Linked DNA regions of Homo sapiens: region 1 is linked to region 2. The links are contacts of gene promoters, found by promoter capture Hi-C in human tissues and cell types (Jung and others, 2019). All regions are on one chromosome and are shown on one strand. The core of a region is centred on a gene start or on the middle of the fragment in contact, and the rest is flanking DNA. Distances in the headings are between cores, read along the strand shown. Region 1 holds the start of RBM14 (RNA binding motif protein 14). Region 2 holds the start of BBS1 (Bardet-Biedl syndrome 1).

Evidence for each region. Contacts are between HindIII fragments. The study calls those that stand out against the background at their distance.
Region 1: the fragment with the promoter of RBM14 here is called in contact with the fragment with the promoter of BBS1 in region 2 in 2 of the 25 tissues and cell types used here (H1 embryonic stem cells and mesendoderm cells).

The regions. Positions count from the first base shown.
Region 1 is chr11:66,613,818-66,618,296 of GRCh38, forward strand. RBM14 (RNA binding motif protein 14) reads left to right here and starts at 2,813. Exons shown (of 3, transcript NM_006328.4): 1 at 2,813-3,240. The coding sequence starts at 2,904. It overlaps RBM14-RBM4 (RBM14-RBM4 readthrough), which reads left to right and starts at 2,813. Exons shown (of 2, transcript NM_001198846.2): 1 at 2,813-3,240. The coding sequence starts at 2,904. It also overlaps the pseudogene RNU4-39P. RefSeq lists enhancers at 2,289-2,398, 2,763-3,696, 2,829-3,058. The HindIII fragment of the contact is 10,275 bases long and covers 1-4,479 here.
Region 2 is chr11:66,508,470-66,512,931 of GRCh38, forward strand. It overlaps BBS1 (Bardet-Biedl syndrome 1), which reads left to right and starts at 2,166. Exons shown (of 17, transcript NM_024649.5): 1 at 2,166-2,237; 2 at 2,544-2,620; 3 at 2,736-2,770. The coding sequence starts at 2,191. DPP3 (dipeptidyl peptidase 3) reads left to right here. Exons shown (of 18, transcript NM_130443.4): 18 at 610-1,188. The coding sequence ends at 782. RefSeq lists an enhancer at 2,028-2,077. The HindIII fragment of the contact is 12,258 bases long and covers 1,435-4,462 here.

The DNA.
Region 1 (4,479 bases), core at 1,563-4,062, 110 kb after region 2:
AAAAAAAAATTTTAGAGATGGATTTTGGTCGTTGCCCAGGCTGTCCCCAACCTTCTGGGCTGAGGCGATCTACCTGCCTCAGCCTCCCAAAGCACTGGGATTACAGGCATGAGCCACCACACCCAGCCTACAATTAGTTTCACCTGTTTCTTTTCACCTTTTAAAATGCAGCTACTAGAAAAATTAAAAGCACCTATGGGTCTCACTGTGTTAACGTAAGACCCCACCTGCCGGGTGGGGTGACTCACACCTGTAATCCCAGCACTTTGGGAGGCCGAGGCAGGCGAATCACAAGGTCGGGAGTTCGGGACCAGCCTGGCCAACATGCTGAAACCCCTACTAAAAATGCAAAAATTACGCCGGGCGTGGTGGCGTGCGTGCCTGTAATCGCAGCTACTCGGGAGGCTGAGGCAGGGAAAACTGCTTGAACCCAGGAGGCGGAGGCTGCAGTGAGCCGAGATAGCACCACTGCACTACAGCCAGGGTGACAAGAGTGAAACTCTGTCTCAATAAATAAATAAATAAAATGGCTATCCTTACTGGGTAGCTAGGGGTTTGCTGATATCCTGTTCTGGGAATACTGCCAGCAGTTTGGATTTCAGGAGATACCAGAGTAGTGCCCCTTTTCTTTCTTTCTTTCTTTCTTTTTTTTTTTTTTTTTGAGACGGAGTCTCGCTCTGTCGCCCAGCCTGGAGTGCAGTGGCGCGATCTCGGCTCACTGCAAGCTCCAACTCCCGGGTTCACGCCATTCTCCTGCCTCAGCCTCCCTAGTAGCTGGGACTACAGGCCCCCGCCACCATGCCCGGCTAATTTTTTGTATTTTAGTAGAGACGGGGTTTCACCGTGTTAGCCAGGATGGTCTCCATCTCCTGACCTCATGATCCGCCCGCCTCAGCCTCCCAAAGTGCTGGGATTACAGGCGTGAGCCACCTCGCCTGGCCCAAGCACATGCCATTTCAATGGCCTTGTGCTACACAACTCCCACCCTCCTATTCTGCTCTCTGTTCCAGGTTCTGGCCATATTGGGCTCTTTTTTTTTTTTTTTTTTGGAGACAGAGTCCTGCTCTGTTGGCCAGGATGGAGTGTGGTGGCGTGATCTCAGCCCACTGCAACCTCCACCTCCTGGGTTCAAGTGATTTTAATGCCTCAGCCTCCTGAGTAGCTGGGATTACAGGTGCCAGTCATCATGCATGGCTAATGTTTTGTTTTCAATTAGCAATAATTGCGCCTCGGATAAACCTCATTGGCTATGATACTGCCACTGCGCAAAGCTAATGTTTTGTAGTTTTAGTAGAGACAGGGTTTTACCATGTTGGTCAGACTGGTCTCGAACTCTTGACCTCAGGTGATCCGCCCGCCTCAGCCTCCCAAAGTGCTGGGATTACAGGCGTGAGCCACCGGGCCTGGCCCATACTGGCTCTTGACTCTTCCTTGAACCAGATTTGCTTCTGCCCCAGCACTCTTTGACTTGTACTTTCTGGCCGGCATGATCTTCCCTCAGAGGATGGCTTAGTTCCCTTGATTACTCCAAGTCCTCATCACCATCTAACACGCTTATGTTTTACTTATTTCTTGCCTGTTTCTCCCCACCATAAGATCCAAGAAGGTTGGGATTTCTGTCATTTTTTTTTGTTCACTGCTATATTCTTGGTGGTGTCCACATGGTAGGTGCTATTTGTTGACTGAACACGTAGGCAAATATTTCCCTGAGTTTGTCACATGTCTATGTTTTTGATGTTGTCTGCCATGCAACAATCTTATTTACATACTCAAATCTGTTTAAAAAAATTTTTGAGACGGAATCTCACTGTCGCCCATGCTGGAGTGCAGTGGCGTGATCTTGGCTCACTGCAACCTCCGCCTTCCGGGTTCAAGTGATTCTCCTGCCTCAGCCTCCCAAGTAGCTGGGATTACAGGCGCGCACCACCACACCCGGCTAATTTTGTATTTTTAGTAGAGACGGGGTTTCACCATTTTGGCCAGGCTGGTCCTGAACTCCTGACCTCCGGTGATCTGCTTGCCTTGGTCTCCCAAAGTGCTGGAATTACAGGCGTGAGCCACCGCTCCCGGACTAAAATTTTTTTTAAGGCTCAACTTTTGCTTCCTGCAGAATTAATTTTCTCGTTTATTAAACTGTTTATTATGAAAACCTTCAACATACAATAACGTCATTCCATTATTTCTTGACTGGGAATTCCATCAGGGCAGAGGCCTTTGATTTTTCACCGGCTGCCAGGACCTCAGCAACCCCAGGGAATGTTTCCAAAGAATCAATTAATGGCACGAGGGCTTCTCCGGGGCCTGCCTCAGGTCCCCTCGCGGTGCTCAGCACAGTCCTGGGAGCCGTTTGCCGACTCAAGGCGCCTGTCCTGGTTTCTCCCGCCAGGCCCGGCCTTCCCCCGTACACTCACGCGGCAACCCCCAGGCGCGGGTTTGGACAGGGCTTCCAGAATGGGAGGAGCCCTGACTTCCAATTGTACAAAGTTTTCCTGGGAGCCCGCCGGTCCCAGCCCCACCCGGGCCAGAGACCGCCTTACAGACTAGGCCTCTCTGCCGCCGGCGCCGCTCGCGCGCGTTCTCCTCTCTTCAGCCCTCCCTCTTCTTCCCAACCCCCTCTCCCGCCACGGGCTGTGGCGGTTGGTCGTCCCTTTCCCACCCCCTCAGCTAACGAGCGGGCTCTAGGCCCTCTGGGATTGGCTGTGCCTGAGCACATCTTCCCTCAGCGTTTCTGATTGGTCGCTGGACGCGCGGGATGCGAGTCCCCATTGGCTAGGCCAGGGCGCCTGCGCGGCGGGGTTCTCGGTCGCCAGCCATTCCTGAGGAGGACTGCCGGTCGTTCGGACGTCTTGCCTGTCGCTGGAGGAGAGGTCCGGGCTCTCCAGGAAGGTGGCTGCGGCGACAAAATGAAGATATTCGTGGGCAACGTCGACGGGGCGGATACGACTCCGGAGGAGCTGGCAGCCCTCTTTGCGCCCTACGGCACGGTCATGAGCTGCGCCGTCATGAAACAGTTCGCCTTCGTGCACATGCGCGAGAACGCGGGCGCGCTGCGCGCCATCGAAGCCCTGCACGGCCACGAGCTGCGGCCGGGGCGCGCGCTCGTGGTGGAGATGTCGCGCCCAAGGCCTCTTAATACTTGGAAGATTTTCGTGGGCAATGTGTCGGCTGCATGCACGAGCCAGGAACTGCGCAGCCTCTTCGAGCGCCGCGGACGCGTCATCGAGTGTGACGTGGTGAAAGGTAACGCGGAGGCGCGCTCGGGGGCGGGGGCGCGCTCGGGGCACTCTGCCTGTTAGCCACGCCCCTTACCCGGGGGTCGGTCACTGCGCGGTTGGGAGGGGTGGGGAAGTGCGCGGGAGCAGGTCGGAGGTGTTGGGGGCGCGTTGGGTAGAGCCACCCTCCTCCCCTGCGGTCCAGGAACCGTCCACCAAGTAGGAGGAAGCGGCTCTGGGTGGGTGCGGCGGCCACTGCGAGCCAAGCTACGGGGCCGGGGACGCGCCTGAGAGCCTTGCGAGTGTTCCGGGGGCGCGCCTTCTCCTGGTCTCCTGGGCCTGGCACCCAGCGGAAATTGGGAAGTGACGGGCACAAGCCGGATCATGAAGCGGGGAAGATTTCTCCACTTCCCCACTTCCTCTCCAGACGTCGGTCAGAGCAAGGGAAGAGGGAAAAGGTGGGGGCTGACGCCCCAAGGCCGCCCTCCTGTTCCCTCCCGATGAATGTGCTCAAGCGGAAGGTAACGGGGCCCTTGGACGTTTCTCGGGCTGGGGTCTTTTAGTCTTGTCTGGCATGGGTCTACTCATGGGCACAGTTACACGTGGGTACGAGAGGGGCCCCTTCCGAATCACTTTGGCCTTTCAATATTAGGTAGGTTAGGCGTGGCAGCTCTGTGCTTTTCTCCTCCCTCAAACTTGGGGTTTTTCTTTGGGCTCGATTTTACATCTGTCAACTGGAAACCCCAGCCTTTTGCATGTGCAAGAAAGCTTGTTTTATGAAGTCCCCTTCTGCGTAGTCTTTACATGCCAAGCCAGTGCCCTAGGGCAGTGTCATTCTTTTATAAGCTTGGTGACTTTGCAGGGGGGCATACTCTGGCTGAGGGGGTCCTGGGGAGGGGTCTGTGAGAGCTCTTCATTAAACAGTGGCTAAACACGGTTTACTGAATCAGTAGTAGTCATTGCTTGAGTAGTCTGATTCTCAGGGCAGATCCCGGTGCCTTTTCTTCGAGAAAAATGTGTCACCATAATTTAAGCCTGACTAGGGACCCAGTTGACTTTTTCATAGCTTGAGTTTTTATCCCTTAAGCTCTTTATCTTTTACATTGGCAAGATTTGGTGGGACAGCCGTTGTGTATGTGGCCAGTCTCTGCTCCACTTGGGAACAGATCAGAGTTAACTTTGCCCTGTCATTTTGGAAGATGCAGCCTGGGAGTATCTGATGCCCTACTCCTGGTGGGTTCATACCTGCTCATACCCTGTGTGAGAA
Region 2 (4,462 bases), core at 916-3,415:
CAAGGACTGTATCTGTTTCACCTAGTGTGGCACCTGGTGTCTTTTATTATTTATTTATTTATTTATTTATTTTGAGGTGGAATCTCACTGTCACCCAGGCTGGAGTGCAGTGGCACGATCTCTGCTCACCGCAACCTCTGCCACCCGGGTTCAAGCAATTCTCCAGCCTCAGCCTCCCGAGTAGCTGGGACTACAGGCTCATGCCACCACGCCCAGCTAATTTTTTTGTATGTTTAGTATAAACAGTGTTTCATCATGTTGGCCAAGCTGGTCTCAAACTCCTGACCTCAGGTGATCCTCCCACCTCAGCCTACCAAGGTGCTAGGATTACAGGCATGAGCCACCATGCCCAGCCTAAATCTTTATTTGATTGACTGAATGAACGAAAGCAGCAATGCATTTAATACTCCCCCTGTAGTATTTCCTTCCTCACAGGGTTACTGTAAAGAGTAAATTAAGTAATTAACCTAAAACGTAGAGCACAGGTTTTTTTGGCAGAGCTCAGTAAGAAACAGCTGCTGCTGTAATTGTGATTATTAAGATTTTTATGATGATTCAGTTTCCCTATTCAGACCTTTCCCTGCTGTTTTCTCTCCATCTCCTCCCCAGGCTCAGACGTGCAGCTTCTGGAATACGAGGCGTCAGCTGCTGGCCTCATCCGATCCTTCTCTGAGCGTTTCCCAGAGGATGGACCCGAGTTGGAGGAGATCCTCACACAGCTGGCCACAGCCGATGCCCGATTCTGGAAGGGCCCCAGTGAGGCCCCATCTGGCCAAGCTTGAGGAAGATGTGTGGCCTTGCCCCCAATTCCATCAGACCAAGGCTGCAAGTGGCCCTCCATTCGTGTGTGTATTTAGGGGCTGGGGAGGGGGAGGGGCAGGAGCTTGGACCTTGGTACTACCTCAGCTGAGGGTGGTGACACAACCCCTTCCATTTGTCAGCACTTTCCAGCCTGCCAATTGCTTCCCCTCTGTGATCTCATTTCATCTGCACTGCCATACGTGGAGTGAGCAAGACAGGGCTTACCATCCTGTCTACCAGATGAGGAAATGGCAGTTCTGAGAAGTCACTGGTCTAGATCCCGCAGGTGGCACGTGACAGCTAGGGTTCAAAACGTTCTCACCAAATCCAATGCTCCTCACATATTAATTTTATAACCAGACAAATAAATATTAGAGACAACCACCATCTTTGCGGCGTGTGTGGCTCCTCCTTGCCTTTGCCTGTCTTCTCATTTACTCCCAGCAGAGTGATGGGCTCAAGGCCTGGGGAGGGGGCAAGGAGGGCCATTTTTAGCCTCCCTTCCACAACAGGATGTTGACATTATCTCTAGATGAGGATACGCAGTCACAGAGCTGAACATAGCACAATTTTTGCAGCTCTCCTTTGTGGCATTCCTTGCATTTTTAAATGTTCTGGGGCCGGGCACGGTGGCTCATGCCTGTAATCCCAGCACTTTGGGAGGCCGAGGCGAGGGGATCACGAGGTCAGGAGTTCGAGACCGGCTTGGCCAATATGGTGAAACCTCGTCTCTACTAAAAAATAAAGTAGCTGGGCATGGTGGCATGCGCCTGTAATCCCAGCTACTCGGGAGGCTGAGGCAGGAGAATCCCTGGAACCCGGGAGGCGGAGGTTGCGGTGAGCCGAAATCGCGCTACTGCGCTCCAGCGCAAGCGACAGAGCGAGACTACGTCTCAAAAAAAAAAAAAAAAAAAAAAAGTTCTGGGAACCTACAAACTCAACTTCAGTCAGAATCCTCTGCATTTGTCCCATAACCCTCGTGTTTTGTTTCTCTGGGCCTGGACCTCTACAGTAACGCAGCAAGGCAGGACATGGTCCTTTTCAACCGGGTAACCATGAAGATGGAGACAGGAGGAGTTCTTTTTGCTGCTCATAAATGCTAGAAGGGGCTTCTTTCCAACCCTGGAAGCCAGAGGGCTCTGTGGCTGACCCAGAGATTGTAGGACCCAGACGCCTGGAAAGGTGGCTCTGACTGGGAAGGAGCAAAGATAAATATCTTTGAGGAATCTGAGACAGATTCCTCAACCCAGGAAGGTGGCCAGCGCGTCCTCCTGAGCCTGGGTGGGAAAGCTTGGCGCCCGGAACCTTTGTACTCGCCCTTCCCTGTGCTCGGGCACTATTGGGCGTTACGCGAGGGCGGGGCCGGTTGCCAGGACGACGCCTGCGAAGATGGCCGCTGCGTCCTCATCGGATTCCGACGCCTGCGGAGCTGAGAGGTGAAGGCAGGGCTCCTCAAGGCCTCTTTTCCCACCCGTGTAAAGAGGGTCCCTTGGTCCCCGGGCTCTGGGCTCCTGCTGTTCTCGGGCAGTCTGGAAGGACTCTTAAGAGGTCAGATAGGGAAACCGAGGCCTAAGATGTGCATATGTGTGTCTGGAGGTCGCTCGGTGAGCCAGTGGCGGAGCCTGGACTTGTACCCAGACGTTCTGTACCTTATGTTCAGAGTGACCTGTACCAGCTTCCTCAAAGTTTTTTTTTCCCCTCCCATGGGACTCACTCCCCAACTGTCTTTCCCCCACTTCCAGCAATGAGGCCAATTCGAAGTGGTTGGATGCGCACTACGACCCAATGGCCAATATCCACACCTTTTCTGCCTGCCTAGGTGAGTCTCTGGAACCAGGAACCCTGGGTTCTAGTGGGATGGGGAGTCAGACAATGGTCCTGTAGTGAAGCCTCTGGGATTCTGAGACTCTGGTTTTGGCCCTTTTGTTTTCCAGCGCTGGCAGATTTACATGGGGATGGGGAATACAAGGTAAGCATATCACCCTAGCCAGGAGAGTTGAGGGTAGGGGGGTGTACCCAGAAATGAGATTTCCTGACGGCTGAAAATAGGCCCAGCATACTCTGGAATTCACATATACTGTGAAAAAGCACATTTAGCGTTAAATTTTGTTTTTATATGGAAAGTGAAGAGAACTTATTGATTTCATAATACAGACTGCAGAAAGTAAAGCAGATCAAATATTTCTGGGGATTCTACTAAGACAAAGCCTCTTAGTTAACCTGATTTCTTTGTTGGAAGGGCAAATCCCTTGGTTGGGGGTGGGCACTAGAATCTGGAGGGAAAGTAAAAAGGAGGGAAGTGAACGTTTGATGTTTATCAAAAGATTTTAAGATGGGCCATGAGCTGTCAATTTTTGAAGCTGGATAATGGGATATATGGGGACTCATTATATGAGTCTCTCTACTTTTGTATGTGAATGAAAATTTTCCATAGTAAAAATGTTACATTTTAAATTTAATTTTAAGGCCAGCAATCCCAGCACTTTGGGAGGCTGAGGTGGGTGGATCGCTTGAGCTTAGGCATTCGAGACCAGCCTGTCCAACATGGTGAAACACCATCTCTACTAAAAATACAAAAATTAGCCGGGCATGGTGATGGGCACCTGTAATCCCAGCTACTTGGGAGGCTGAGGCAGGAGAATTGGTCAAACCCAGGAGGCGGAGGTTGAGTGAGCTGAGACCATGCCACTACACTCCAGCCTGGATGACAGAGTGAGACAGTTTCAAAAAAAAATATATATATATATATGTGTATATATATGTATATATATGTATATATATGTGTATATATATGTATATATATATACATATATTTAATTTTAAATAAAAATGTAAATTTAAAAAGATACAAGTTTTTTAAAGGTAGAGAAATATATTGGGATAAAAGAAAGGAAGTTAGCATGGATTCAGTATCCATTTCTGGACTAGACATTCCATGGAGGCACATAAACATGGATTTTATTTATTCCCATTTTGTGAATGGGAAAATAGTTTCAAAGAGGTGAAGTTTACTGAATTTGTAACTGGGTCTGTTTGATTCCAAGTTTTGTGCTTTTTCTACCAAAGCTCAGCCCTCACCATGGGCAACAACACCACAATGGATATATCATGTGGGTGGCTAGAAGATAGTCCTGGAATCCCACCCCACACAGAGAGTGCAATAGGACTCAGTGGTTTTTGCCCCCAAATTCCTATCCATAATGTATTCAGTAATTCAGCAAGTGTATAGTGAGTCCCTACTGTGTGTCAGGCATCATGGGGACACTACACTCAGAAATGCATCAGCATGTGGTCAGGAGGAGATACACTGTCGACAATTATTCCATGATATTGATTGAATACCTAGTTTGTATTTGGCTCTGGGCTTACAATAGTGAGGGAAGAGAAACCACAGACACAGTAGCTAATAAGAAATGTTAGCCAGGCACAGTGGCTCATGCCTGTAATCCCAGCACTTTAGGAGGAGGCCAAGGCGGGTGGATCACGAGGTCAGGAGTTTGAGACCAGCCTGGACAACATGGTGAAACCCTGTCTGTACTAAAAATACAAAAATCAGCCGGGCGTGGTGGCAGGCGCCTGTAATCCCAGCTACTCGGGAGGCTGAGGCAGGAGAATGGCTTGAAACCAGAAGGCGGAGGTTGCAGTGAGCCGAAATCACGCC